Linked DNA regions of Homo sapiens: region 2 is linked to region 1. The links are contacts of gene promoters, found by promoter capture Hi-C in blood cells and fetal thymus (Javierre and others, 2016). All regions are on one chromosome and are shown on one strand. The core of a region is centred on a gene start or on the middle of the fragment in contact, and the rest is flanking DNA. Distances in the headings are between cores, read along the strand shown.

Evidence for each region. The method cuts DNA at HindIII sites, captures the fragments that hold promoters and counts their contacts. A CHiCAGO score of 5 or more calls a contact.
Region 2: a contact is called between a fragment that was not itself captured here and the fragment with the promoter of SMU1 in region 1, in 5 of 17 cell types (total B cells, naive B cells, monocytes and 2 more). The highest score is 10.8, in total B cells.

Annotation. Positions count from the first base shown.
Region 1 is chr9:33,074,593-33,081,422 of GRCh38, reverse strand. It overlaps SMU1 (SMU1 DNA replication regulator and spliceosomal factor), which reads left to right and starts at 4,749. Exons shown (of 12, transcript NM_018225.3): 1 at 4,749-4,840. The coding sequence starts at 4,815. RefSeq lists enhancers at 4,368-4,567, 4,738-4,887. The HindIII fragment of the contact is 3,581 bases long and covers 2,212-5,792 here.
Region 2 is chr9:33,123,720-33,131,021 of GRCh38, reverse strand. All of the region lies in intron 2 of B4GALT1 (beta-1,4-galactosyltransferase 1), which reads left to right. LOC124902141 (a long non-coding RNA gene) reads left to right here. Exons shown (of 2, transcript XR_007061455.1): 1 at 1-746; 2 at 2,033-3,211. Among named protein-coding and RNA genes, the nearest start is that of MIR12117, 19 kb to the right of the region's middle. RefSeq lists an enhancer at 6,152-6,201. The HindIII fragment of the contact is 1,945 bases long and covers 1,643-3,587 here.

The DNA of each region.
Region 1 (6,830 bases), core at 3,500-5,999:
TGGGAGGGGGCCCATTTACCGGAAAGCAGGGCGGATCAGGAGACCGGATTTCCCTCGGGGTTACTTTTGTTCACTAGAAATTTGGTCTAGGAGGTTGTGATCCAGCCTGTGAGTATGCGGTGGAAAGATTCTTGGTGAATACAACTGCCTGGTTTAGAGTTTAGAAGTTGTCTGTGTGTGTGCCTGCTTGTTTCTTTATTTATATATGGATGGAGAGATGTGAGAGACCTCATTTGTCTAGTGTTAAAAACAAAATTTCTATACAAATTGATCTTTAGGAATTGGCAAAATTTATCAACTTGTGAACAAGAGATCAGCAAGGTGACAAAAGCTATACTTTTGGGTATGGGAAAAGCATGGAAATGGATGGATTGTTGGAATACAGAATACTTACATAAGCAACCAGTTCAGGAAGGAAAAAAATCCTCCCCAACTAGGTAAAGATTGTAATTTCTTATACATGGTAACAAAAACATCATATTCCACTTTTTTATTACAGAATAAACATGAATGAGGAGGGTTTGCAATGCCAGCAGCATCGACTGTCAATCAGGGGTTAAAAATCCAATATATCGAAGAAGCAAAGGATAGGTATACCTCTGTGGCTGCTTGCTAGTCATGATAAAGTTTCATTTCTCAAGAATGGTGCCCATGATCACATTGACGTGAATGCATAAACCACGGGCACAGCAGCAAATAACAAGTTCTGACTTGAAACAGGCTACTTGGCACCAGGGATTATGTCAAGCAGCATGTGATGCAGACAGAGTATAGTTTACACTCCCCACCCTCCACTGCCCCACGTTTTCTTTCTTTCTTTTTTATTTTTATTTTTATTTTTTGAGACGGAGTCTCACTGTGTCACCCAGGCTAAAGTGCAATGGTGCAATCTCGTCTCAGGCCAACCTCCGCCTTCCGGGCTCAAGCGAATCTCTTCCCTTAGCCTCCTGAGTAGCTGGGATTACAGGCATGTGCCACCATGCCCAGCTAATTTTTGTATTTTTGGTAGAGATGGGGGGGTTTCACTATGTTGGCCAGGCTGGTCTCGAACTCCTGACCTCAGATGATCCACCCACCTTGGCCTCCCAAAGTGCTGGGATTACAGGCGTGAGCCACCATGCCTAGCCTATTTTAATTTTATTATTATTATTATTTTCTTTAGAGACAGGGTCTCACTTTGTCTCCCAGGCTGGAGCGCAGTGGTGCGATCATGGCTCACTGCAGCCTCAAACTCCTGGGCTCAAGCCAATCCTCCCGCCTCAGCCTCCCAAGTTGCTGGAACTACGGGCGTGTGCCACCATGCCAGGCTAATTTTTCTGTGAAGAAGGGGTCTCTTGCTATGTTGTCCAGCCTTGTCTTGAGCTCCTGGTCTCAAGCAATTTTCCCACCTTGGCTTCCCAAAGTACAGGGATTATAGGTGTGAGCCACCACACCTGGCCAATCAATATGTGCTATTTTTTAGAGAAAAATTAATCAATTTAATTGTACCTGTAATTGACTGAATAAAAGGAAACTGAAGTGAAACCAAAAGAATTGTTGAACTTATGTAAATGTTTCTTTATCACAAAATATATTATTTTCTAAAAGATCTTTCCAAGGTTAAAAAAGGAGAGTAAGAAAAGTATTAAGGGATTGGAGTTATTATTTTGGAGCAATGACTAATAGGCATCTCTTTAACATGTTCTCAATACTATTAGGCTCAAGGACCTCCAAATCTCTTGTAACATCCCTTTTAGTGTTCTGAAATTCATAAGTAATATAATCTACTTACACATTGGGAGGCCAAGGCGGGCGGATCACTTGAGGTCAGGTGTTCGAGACCAGCCTGGCCAACATGGCGAAACCCGTCTCTACTAAAAATACAAAAATTTGCTGGGCATGGTGGTGCGTGCCTGTAATCACAGCTACTTGGGAAGCTGAGGCAGAAGAATCACTGGAACCCAGGAGGCAGAGGTTGCAGTGAGCTGAGATGGTGCCACTGCACTCCAGCCTAGGCAACAGAGTGAGACTCTGTCTTAAAAAAGAAAGAAAAATCTACTTACGCAGATAATGAAAAAATCAATATAATGCTAAATATATAGGAAAAATAAAAATAAATTAATTTGTTATAAAATAGAGTAATATGTAGTTCAATATCAAAATCCTAGGGTGTTACTACAAAAGACATAATGAAGCAATAAGATGCTCACATCTATAAATAATGAACAAGCTTGGATGTAATAGGAGTCATAAGAAGAGAAGCCATTCCATTCAAAATGAAAGCAGAGGTGTGGTGGATATTAGAATAAAACCTGGTGTTAAGTAATCATAGAGAAGATTTATTTGTATAAACAAAATAGAGAAGTAACCTGAATTTAAGAGTAACATGACAAGTACTAGGTAGAGAAAATGAGGACATATGCTATTGTTGCGATGAGCTGGGTCTTCTTTTCAAGGAAGAAGTTATAATAATTTTGTGCTGTTATGGGATAGAATAGTGAAGGAGTATCTCATAAACCATATAACCCATGTTGATATCTCACTACATGTCAAGGCAAGCATGGAGACTCTAAAACATTTGAAACCTTGGAGACCATGTCCTTCAAGAATTGATAGGAAATAGAGGATGATTTGACAAAAGAAGCAGTATTTAAGAGGTTATGGACAAGTTGTATGGCAGACCTTTAGGCACAGAATCAGATAAGACTGAAAGCCATCAGGAAATCTACAAATACATCATTTCAATATGTAATTTCGGAACACAGATTTATTTTATTTATTTATTTATTTATTATTTTTTGGTCACTCGGTCACCCAGGGTGGAGTGCAGTGGTTCGATCTCTCCTCACTGCAACCTCTGCCTCCCGGGTTCAAGGGATTCTCCTGCCTCAGTCTCCCGAGTAGCTGGGATTACAGATGCACACCTATCTGCCTGGCAAATTTTCTTATTTTTAGTAGAGACGGGGTTTCACCATGTTGGCCAGGCTGGTCTCCAACTCCTGAACTCAGGTGATCCACCCGCCTCAGCCTCCCAAAGTGCTGAGATTACAGGCGTGAGCCACCACGCCTGGCCAGATTTATTATTACTGTGCTGCAAATAATTTTTACAATTTATATACAACAGCAATAAAATATTTAAAAATAGGTTTTATGTATGAAGTTCACTGATATCTCTACATTTCATTTGTCACTACAAATGTAATAATGTGTTTGACCTAAAGTCCCGTGACAGGGCGTGGTGGCTCATGCCAGTAATCCCAGCACTTTGGGTGGCTGAGGTGGGAGGATTGCTTGAGCTGGAGGGGTCGAGGCTGCAGTGTGCCACGATCGAGACACTGCACTCCAGCATGGGCAACAAAGCGAGTCCTTGATTCAAAAAAACGCAAAACCAACCAACCAACCAAAATCCTCAATTAACTCTTCCTATAAATTTTGGCTAGTGTTATGTTGGTTTTGAATGTATTAATATCCCATCAGGTATTGCATATTCAGCCTCATCTTAAATCTAATCAACTAATTACATCAAACGAAAGCAACATTGGCTGGGCGCAGTGACTCACGCCTGTAATCCCAGCACTTTGGGAGACCGAGGCGGGCGGATCACGAGGTCAGGAGTTCGAGAACAGCCTGACCAACATAGTGAAATCCCATCTCTACTAAAAATACAAAAAATTAGCCTGGCGTGATGGCAAGAAACCTGTAATCCCAGCTACTCCGGAGGCTGAGGCAAGAGAATCTCCTGAACCCGGGAGGCAGAGTTTGCAGTGAGCCGAGATCGCGCCATTGTGCTCTTCAGCCCGGGCGACAGTGCGAGATTCCGTCTCAAAAAAAAAGCAATCTTTCCAAACCAGTGCTCTTTCTTTTCTTTCTTTTCTTTTCTTTCTTTTCTTCTTTCTTTTCTTTGCTTTTCTTACTACAATCTTATCACCACTACTTTTCTTTTCTTCTTTTGAGACGGAATTTTGCTCTCCTTGCCCAGGCTGGAGTGCAATGGTGTGATCTCGGCTCACCGCATCCACCTCCAGAGGTGAAACGATTCTCCTGCCACAGACTCCCGAGTAGCTGAGATTACAGGCGCCCCCGCCACCACGCCCGGCTAATTTTTTGTATTTTTAGTAGAGACGGGGCTTCACCATGTTGCCCAGGCTGGTCTCGAACTCGCGCGCTGGGAGTACAGGCGCGAGCCACCGCGCTCCGCCCCAGCGCTTTTCTTTTTCAGTACATTTGTGAGCTGTATGGCGCCCGGTGCTTTTTTTCTTTTTCTTTTCTATCTTTCTTTTTTTTTTTTTTTTTTTTTTGAGACGGAGTTGCGCTCTTGTTTTCCATGCTGGGGTGCAATGGCGCGATCTCGGCTCACCGCAACCTCCGCCTCCTGGGTTCAAGCGATTCTCCTGCCTCAGGCTCCCGAGTAGGGATTACAGGCATGCGCCACTACGCCCGGCTAATTTTGTATTTTTAGTAGAGACGGGGGTTTCTCCATGTTGGTCAGGCTGGTCTCGAACTCACGACCTCAGGTGATCGCCCGCCTCGGCCTTCCAAAGTGTTGGGATTACAAGCGTGAGCCACCGCACCCGGCTCCGGCCTGCTTTTAAACAGTCTTCCTCCTGATGCGTATTTCTCTGGGGCAGGGGCATAAACTCCGCCCTCTGACAGCCCCTGAGGGCTCCGCCCCTACGCGAACCTCGCCCCTACTCTTCGTTCACTCTATCTCCAGAGCGGGAGCCAGACGCCGACCCAAGCGGAAGTGACGTTAGGTGTCCGCCGGAGGTGTCGTTGGTGTGTTGCGCGACTGGCCTTGAGGGAGAGCTGGGGCCTGCTCCCGGAGAGATACGGCTATGTCGATCGAAATCGAATCTTCGGAGTGAGTCCTGCGGTGGGGATGTTCGCGCCTTGCCGGGGGCCTGGAGGTTAAGGGTGTGGGGCGGAGGGTACTCGGGAGAAGGCATCCGAGAGGCCAGGGAGTGGAGGGCCATTTCCTTGCCCCCAAAGAAGCATCTTGGATCTCGCTACCTCGGAGGTGGGCCCACAGGAAAGTAGCAGCTCTCAGACGTGAAGCCCAAAACCTCGAGGGAGGTGGCACGGGTGGGGAAAACACACCTTGCAGACCTAAGTTCTGTCCTTGGCCGACTGCTGGCGCGCTGTGATTGACCAAATTAAGGATCCACTCTGGACTCCAGTCTAATTATCTGCGCAAGGGGATAGGTCTCTTTAAGCCTTGCTTCTCTCCCTGTCCAGCTTATGCAATGTGATTCGTTGTCTCTGCTTATACGGCCCCTTTGCTTTTCTCTGCCTAGCGTTTATCACTCAGTATTGTCACTGTTTGATAACCTCACCCCAAACTAGCCTTTGTCGGTGCCTAGGAGCTCCTTTTCCTTGTGGTCTCAGTGTCTAGCATACCTTAGAGGAAGAGTTAATTGCTTTTGGAATGAATGAACAACTAGCTTTTGGAATGAATGAACAACTATCAGGCCCGATCTGGCACGGAATTTTGGGTTGTCTGGGGAGAGACAGACTGGAGACTGGGCTAGAAAGAAAAATTTTCAAGGAATAGGGGATGAGAATTAGTGACTAAAGAAGACCTTAGTGTGCTTTTCCAGAACTCCATCCTCCACCTGTCCTTGCCAACACTTAATAATAATTAAATTAACAGACATAAAAATTGTGTCTGAGTGTAAGGGAGGGAGAGGACCTTTTTTGGAGACTTTTCATAGGAGGAAGGGAGGTTTATGCATTCAGCAAATACTGAAATGATGTTAACCTACTTGTCCAAGGTCACATAACTTTGATTCAAATCCCAGACTATCTTCAAAGCTTCTAGCTCTTTATGTATTCATTTCTGTTTGAAGGTAGGGAATTTGATTTTGGCTATGTCAAATGTGAGCTGTTTGAGGAGAGAGATGACTTATTTTGGGAGTGTAAAATGGAAGTCAACGGACATGTGCTAAGGAAGATAGTATCATAGCAGAATAACAGGGGTCTAAGTCTGGATACCTGCATACCTCATAAAGGGGCCATGAGAGAAAAAGACTACTGCAGGTAGCAGCAATCAGTTCCCTTTTTTTTTTTTGAGACGGAGTCTCACTCTGTCACCCAGGCTGGAATGCAGTGGCGCGATCTCCGCTCACTGCAAGCACCGCCTCCCACGTTCACGCCATTCTCCTGCCTCAGCCTCCCGAGTAGCTGGGACTACAGGCGCCCACCACCATGCCCGGCTAATTTTTTTGTATTTTTAGTAGAGACGGGGTTTCACCGTGTTAGCCAGGATGGTCTCGATCTCCTGACCTTGTGATCTGCCCGCCTCGGCCTTCCAAAGTGGTGAGATTACAGGCGTGAGCCACCGCGGCCGGCCTATAGTTGTTTTTAAGAAGAGGGGCCAGGTGCGGTGGCTCACACCTGTCATCTCAACACTTTGGGAAGCTGAGGTGGATGGATCACTTGAGCCCAGAAGTTTGAGACCAGCATGGTCAACATGGCAAAACCACGTCTCTACAAAAAATACAACAATTAGCCAGTGTGGTGGTGCATGCCTGTGGTCTCAGCTACTCGGGAGGCTGAGGTGAGAGGATCACCTGATCCCAGGAGGCCCAGGCTGCAGTCAGCCACAATCACGCCACTATTCTGTCCAGCCTGAGCGATGCAAGTGACCATTTCTCAAAAAAAAAAAAAAAAAAGAGGATGTTTGCTTTCTCCTCAGGAATACATGCTCTAGAGCCACACTGCCAGTTTGAGTCCTGATTTTTCCACTTATTATCTCTATTATCTGATCAAATCCTCATCTGTAAATTGGGGATAAAAGTAAACTTACCTCATAGGTTTTATTTTATTTATTTTTTTGAGACAAGGTCTTGCTC
Region 2 (7,302 bases), core at 1,366-3,865, 52 kb before region 1:
TCCTTGGTGGGGAGGGTTATGAGGCATCCTTCTCATGGTAAACCTTCAGTAAATACCAGCCGTTACTAGGAGGGTCCACTCCTGCCTCTCCACTCTCCATTCATCCTGCCTGTTTCCTCTGCCTGCTTCCTCTGCCTGCTTCTGTGGTGGTGAATTCTTCATGGCTCCCACCGCCTCCTGCTGCACCCCCACTCAGGGCCCGCATCAGGACCCTTCCTCCTATTGGTTTGAACTCCTTGGAGTCAGAGGGTAATGGATAGTGGAGTGAGCCAGGTGGCAGAATCTCAGAGGCCATCCCGGGCCTATAAGCCTCTTCAAAATAGGGCCACGTATCAAGCTTTACACACAGGAGTGAACTTTCACAAGTTGTTATGACTCATACTCTGTCTATAGTAAGCTGTTAACCACTCCCATTTGGCTTATGCCTCTGTAATTATTGTACTAACTTATATCTTAAAATAAGGATATTGAAGGAATGAGCCGGGAGAGGCTTTCCTGGTTGAGATATAGAAGAACAAGAGTTGCTCTTTTTCCTTAAGGTCTCTCCTCCCACCCCTGACCTTAGCTCACCAGCATGGGAGAATACTATTTGACTCCTTGTACTCTGAGACGTGGATTTCAAGATATAGCATTCCAACTTCAACGGCAGCAAGAAAAGAAGCAACAGAAGGAGAAGACATCATAGCAAACAGGGATGCATGCTGCATTTCCTAATACTCAAACCCGGAAACGAGACTTCACTCAAGGTGAAGGGAGGGCAGGTCACCACCTGGTAGCACTAGCCCTAAATTAAGGAATGCAGAATGTTTGTGGGATTGCCCATCATAAAAATTACAAAATGAGTAAGGAATGCAGGCACAGCTGGCCAGGTGGGTTTGTCACAACCATGGCAGCCCTTTGCCCCACAGCCAGTACACAGAACTGGTCTCTCCAATTCCGATTGCATATCTTCTGGCACCTCTGTTCCTCTCCCTCAGCTGCCCAGGATTTTTCTGGTTCTGACCATGTTACTTCCTCTTTTAAACCTGTTAGCATTTCACGACTGCCTACAGGCAACGGTCTAAATGGTCGGAAGGCCCAAGCTTAGCATCCGAGACCCTGACCTACCTCCAGCCACTTCCTCCTCCTCTCCACTTCACTGGACTCCCCATCTCCACCCAGACACCTCTGTTCTCCCCTCTGTGTGCCTTTGCTTATGCTGTCCCCTGTGTTCCTAGTGTGTCTCTGGCTATCTTTTAAGCTTCCCTCCCCAACCTCATTAGTTCTGTGGAGCCCCTGGAATAGAGCTGACTTCTCCTTCCCTGCTGCTCCCAGGCTGCTCAGAACTTTCTGGAAAGGGATGATTATCTGAGTTCCAGCCTCACCCCAGCCCCCGGACTCTGAGTCCCTCATGTCTGCCTCCCTTCTTTCTCTCTGACCACACAGCTGGTACATAGTCAGTACAGACGCAGTCAGTGAGTGGAGCACGGGGCTTCTCTCCAGGATTCCTGCCCCTTTGTTTATCCCTAGTCTCAGGACTCCCTACTCCTGGTCTTCTGCCTAAATCTGTGCCTCTTGGAAGTGAAGCCTCCGTTCCCAGTGGGGCCAGGTCCTGACCCTTGGGAACTTGCAGGATCCCTCCCTTGGGCCTCTCCCCGAAGCTTCCAGCTCAATGCTGACCAGAGCACAGGCTGCCTGTGACAGTCCTTGGGGTGACCTCCCTTATCAGGAAAAATGCAGAAAACCTATTAATACCTTAGCCTTGTGATTGTTAATGGTCACAAAACTCCTTTAGGGTCCTTTGGACTCAGCACCTTTATGGTCTCACTTTGAATTTTGAACCTCCCACCTCCCCCCATCCCCCAGAGTAAGGCAAATGGTCTTCTGATTGTTCCTGCAGAGGGAAGGCTCCACAGGTAAGCACACGATGGCCAGGAAGCAGAGCTGGAGCCTGCCTGAAAGGCTGTGGAGAAATGGAGGGAGGGCTGCCCTGAGGACTCTGTCTGGCTTTGAAGTTTTCTACTGTTTCCTTTTCTTCTGTGCACTGTTTTAGGATGATGGGGTGATAGTTCCAGGCTGGTTGAGGATGGATTTGGAGACAGTCCTTTGTACCCTCAGTGAGCAAGAGTATCTGTCACCCTACCTCAGCAGTTGTCTCTGTCACTGGTCCAAGCAGCTGGTTCCTACACAAGGTCAAGATCAACTGGGGAGAAGCAGACTCCTGGGTCTATCCCATTAGTGAGGACAGCTGCCTGGGCTTATGGCCTCATTGGTTTGGTTTCTATCTTGATCATCTCTACCATCCCCCCATCCCGGCCTTCCATTTTCTACCTCAGCTGTCAGTGCACAGATTGATGTGTGTGGGAACGGAGCTTGGGAGGAGTGGGGTAGGGCTGGTCCTGTCCTGTAGCCTCCCCTTCCTTCGGGCACTTGGACCCTTTGGAGCTTGCCGGGGTGGGGAATGGGAGTGGGAAGGCCAGGGAGTGTCTCTGCACCATCACTGTTTGAGTGTTGCCCCTTTGCTGTGTGCCCCACCTAGTCTATGTGTGTCTCTGTTCTCTGGGGACTCAATTTGCTGGTGAATTGCTTCCATGGACATTGTTCTGGGAAATGCCATTTTTTCTGCTCACCCATGACTCTGTGACAAGGAATGACAGCTTATTAGGAATTTGTTTTTGCATTGGAACAGTGGTCATCAGAATGGGCCCCTTTTCCCTTGCAGCTTTGACATTTGCCTCTCTTTTCCTCACCTCTCTCCCTTGCATCCACCCTTTTCTCTTTTTCTTCTTTTTTGTTTTCCTTCTAGCAGGGGCCTTTTACCTTTACTTGTTAATCCTGTTTGTAGCAAAGCAAGTGGAAGGAGGAGTTCCTCTCTGATCTGCTTCTTATTCTCCACCTACCTTCTCTTCTGTACTTTCCGCCTCCTAGAGAGAGAGAGAGAGAGAGGAATGCCGACCTAACTACCGCTGCCACTGCTGCTGCCACCACCGCTGCCACCACCACCCTGGTAATGTTCACATGTCCTCAAATCAACCCAGAGCCAGGGCCCTGCTGGTCAGGGGGAGGCTATGTAAATAATCCCATGAGTGTGCCATCCTCAGGCCCTGGGGTCTCCTAGGCAAGACCAGGGCCTCTGTGGGCTCTCTCGGAAATGCTGAGGTTGCTGGAAGCCAGCCCGTCATACAGGGTCTGAGAGTTTAACTTCTTTTAAATTAAACCACAGTTGAGCTCATGCTGTGTGTGTATAAACTTTTGTATCCTGCTTTTTCCTTAAATTCTTTATCATCAGCATCTTCCCATGTTATTTCATAGTCTTCATCATCATCACTTTCCATACCTTCATAGTAGTTGATCGTAGAATTCCATCATAATTAACTTGTCTTTTCTCTCTTAGAAGTCCCTTAGGTAATGTCCAATTTTCCGTGAGTGTAAGTAATACCATAATGAACATCTTGGAGTCTGAAGTTTATTCTGTGTTGGTTTGTTCCACATTTAGGATCATTTTCCCAGGCTAGATTTTCAGATGTGGGATTATGGGTTCAGATATGGTTTACACATTTTTATAGTTCTTAATACAGATGGCCAAATTGCTTTCTGAAAGAGAAGCTTTTCTTAAGTATTTTTCTCCAACTTGTATCTTAAACATCCTGAACATGCTTAGCACCACTGTCTTGATATATCTGCGGAAAGCCACGTCTCCACTTTTCAGTGTGTCGGGCCCTGGGAGAGGCAGGCATCCTGCGCTGGCTCCTTGGAGCTGGGTTTAAAATTGTCTCCTCTGGCTGGGCGTGGTGGCTCACACCTGTAATCCCAGTACTTTGGGAGGCCGAGGTGGGCGGATCACTAGGTCAGGAGATCGAGACCATCCTGGCTAACATGGTGAAACCCCGTCTCTACTAAAAATACAAAAAATTAGCCGGGCGTGGTGGCGGGCACTTGAAAAGTCCCAGCTACTCGGGAGGCTGAGGCAGGAGAATGATATGAACCCGGGAGGCGGAGCTTGCAGTGAGCCGAGATCGCGCCACTGCACTCCAGCCTGGGCGACAGAGTGAGACTCCATTTTAAAAAAACAAACAAACAAAACAAAAAAACAAACAAACAAAAACTGTCTCTTCTGTGCTCACTTCACCCAGAATCCCTGTTGGGCTCTTCAAGGAGCTCAGTTCTCTCTGAAAGCAACTTTATAGCCTCAGTCCAGTCTGTGTTCCTGTGTGGCAGGGGTCAAGGGTATGCTCACTCTTGAGAGTGGTGTCTTTGGTTGACCAAGAACCACTCCCATAGCCTGGTCCCTAACCCTTGAAGGCCCATCTCTCTCACTCACTGGGGTGAAGAGTTTAAATCTCAGATCCAAGTTTTGTTGAGAGCTCTGAGCTACCATATTGCTATGGTTAACAATAGTTAACAATGTTAACAATGGTTAACTATGGTTAACAATAGTTAACAATGTTTAACAACTAGAGCCCAGCTGGGTGTGGTGGCATGTGCTAACAGTCCCAGCTTCTCAAGAGGCTGAGGTGAGAAGATTGCTGGAGTCCAGGAGCTCAAGGCCAGCCTGGGCAACATGGCGAGACCCTGTCTCCCCTGCAAAAAAACAACAACAACAAAAGCAAAACTAGAGCCCAACTGCTGTGAACTCATGGCTGAGTAGATATTATTAGCCCTCCACAAACTCAGCATTTGTATAATCCCAGGCTGTTTCCAGTAATTCTCTGGGGATCATCTCCCAGCCTGTCCACTGTTCCAGGATCCACACTTAGGCCTATAGGAATGCCCCGTCAGAGCTTCTGCTGCCGCTGATCTGTTACTGTTTCATGCAACCCACTCGGCCTAGTTCCTTCCTCTTACTGTCTCAGTGGGCACAGAAAAGCATACAGAGGGTGTTTCAGCAAACATTGCCACTGGCTGCAGACCTGCCCCCGGATCTGTCCTGTTGAGAGCTTAGTGCTGCGTTCTTGCATGGTGGGGAGGGGTGTGGCTCTGTGATGAGCCAGGGCATGTGTATAGGAGCAACAGTGTCTCTCTTATCACGTAGAAGTTCTGACTCATTGCGAGTCTTGGCTTTGGGTTAATGGTTCCAGCCATGTTGCTGCTGTGTCTTTTGGTGCAGGAGAGGCTGGGCACAGTTGGTCCCTAAGCCATTATGGATAAGGGATGTGTCTGCTGATATACACACATGGACCTGACATCCAGGGAAGGCAGGGTGATTGGACAGAACAGTTCTTCCAGAAGCTGTTGGAACTTGGACAAGAGTGGCCCTTGGCTTTCTGTAGTTGGTCATCTGTCCCCTGTTGCAATCAGGGGAAGGCCACACTTGCCTTCCTTAACCACAGTTAGGATTTTCTTGGGGATTAGACCAGATTCTAGCACCTGTCCTGAACCTCTCGCCCCGCCCCTACAAAGGCTGCTTGCAAGTGTAGTGCACATACACAGGGAGCAGGTGGGGCATGGAAGTGGAAGTGGAGCCCCTGCCTTTGGCCCTTGGGGGAGGCACTGTCTGCTTACCCACGGTTGTTGCCTCATAGGAATCATACAACAGCTTCCTAACTGGTCTCCTTGCCTTCAGTTGGATTGGGGCACAAATCCCTCCTTGACATATAAACCATGGTTTAAGGCTCCCTGTGGCCTAAATAAAGATAAAGCTTAAGTATCTTAACAAGCACCTAACCCTTCTCCCCAGCCTCGGTGATTTGGCTCATCGCTGCCTTCATGTTTCATTCTGGCTTCACTCATTCGGAATTTCTTGTAGTTCCTTGGCTGTTCTCTTTTCCTTACCGCCTTTACAAATGCTCTCACCATGCATGCTTTTCTCTGCTCCTACAGATGCCTTCTCTCCCAGCACCGCCTCCAGAGTCTATGTCTGGTCGATTCTGTCTGCTGTCTCCAGTCCCCATCTTGTGGCAGTCTCTGCTCAATCATTTGGGGATTTTATATGTTTTCTGGCCTTTCTTTTGGGGGCCTGTCTTCTCCTTCTAAAAGCAGCCAGTTGACCTAGAAGGAAGGGATAACTGTAACTCTTGTCTACCAACATAAGATTAGGCCCACCCTTTAAAAGCTGCGTCTTTGAAAGGGACACCTGCACCCAGCATGCTGGCTTCTCTTCACCAAGCGTGACTTCCTACGCATTTCACAGGCCTCCAGAGGTCCCCCTGACTCTCTTCTGCTGTGAGAAACTCTAATCATGTAAGCCACAGGCTAATTCCCTTGAGCCTTAAATGTTTTTAGTAATTTCCCATTCATCAGAGAAGCAGGATTTGGGAGGAATTTTGAAGCAAACACTACAGAAGGCAGAGTCTCCAGGTAGGATATCTAAGAGACATTTGGAATGGTCTGACTGTTCAAGATGGATGGGAAAGCCTCTTCCTGTAATGATAGTAGCCAACATTTGTTGTCAGGCAGTGGGGCCCCATTTTTGAGATGGGGTCTCTGTCACCCAGGTTGGAGTGCGGTGGTGCTGTCATGGCTCACTGCAACCTCAGCCTCCCCGGGCTGGGTCTTCTTAATTCTGAAAAACCCAGCTTTTAAAGGGTGGACCTAATCTTATGTTGGTAGACAATGTTGTCTCATTTAATACAATGCACATGCTCTCCCCATAACACAAAAGAGGGAACTGAGGCCTGGAGGTGTGATGTACCCCAAGTCACATAGCTAATAAATAAAGAAGCCAGCATTCCTGGGATTAAAAATGCATGTGTCTGTCACTGTGGTGTATTTGGTGCTTGATCAATGTTTACTTGAGCAAATGGAGGGGCAGAGGTACCGATGAGTGTGCTCAGTGAGGAGGGCAGGAGTGAAGCTGGGCGTCTTCCCGCCTCTTGTGAGTGGTGGGGCTTGGTGAGCTTGCCAGGGCCTGTCTTTCTTATCAAAGAAGGTGTGTGCCCCAGTGTTACAGCATTTCACCCAAAGCAGCCTAGAAAATGCTTGACTTTTCTGTCATTCCGGGGAGGACACTTTCCTCCTCCACTGTTCTGCTGGCCTGGTGTACCCACGGCCCCTGATAGATGATAGCACCTGCTAAAGTGCACCATGCCCTTCCGTCTCACTGCATCCCACAGATGAGGCCAGGCTGGGATGAGGGAGAAAGGGAGGGATATATAGTTCAGGTTATTTTGGAAAACTGCCTGACCAATTTTAAGTCTGGGCCGGACACTGGGGCATCTCACCACGTTGAAAGGGCCGTGGCACCCCGGGCGGTGAAAGGGGCTGGAACCAGGTCTGCTTCTTGGGCTTCTCCTCCAGGGTGCCATTGCTCATGGGCCTTGGCTGCAGAGGTGCTCATTCGTGGTTCCAAAATTCCAATTCCTGGGAGAGGAAAAATGCTTAGTT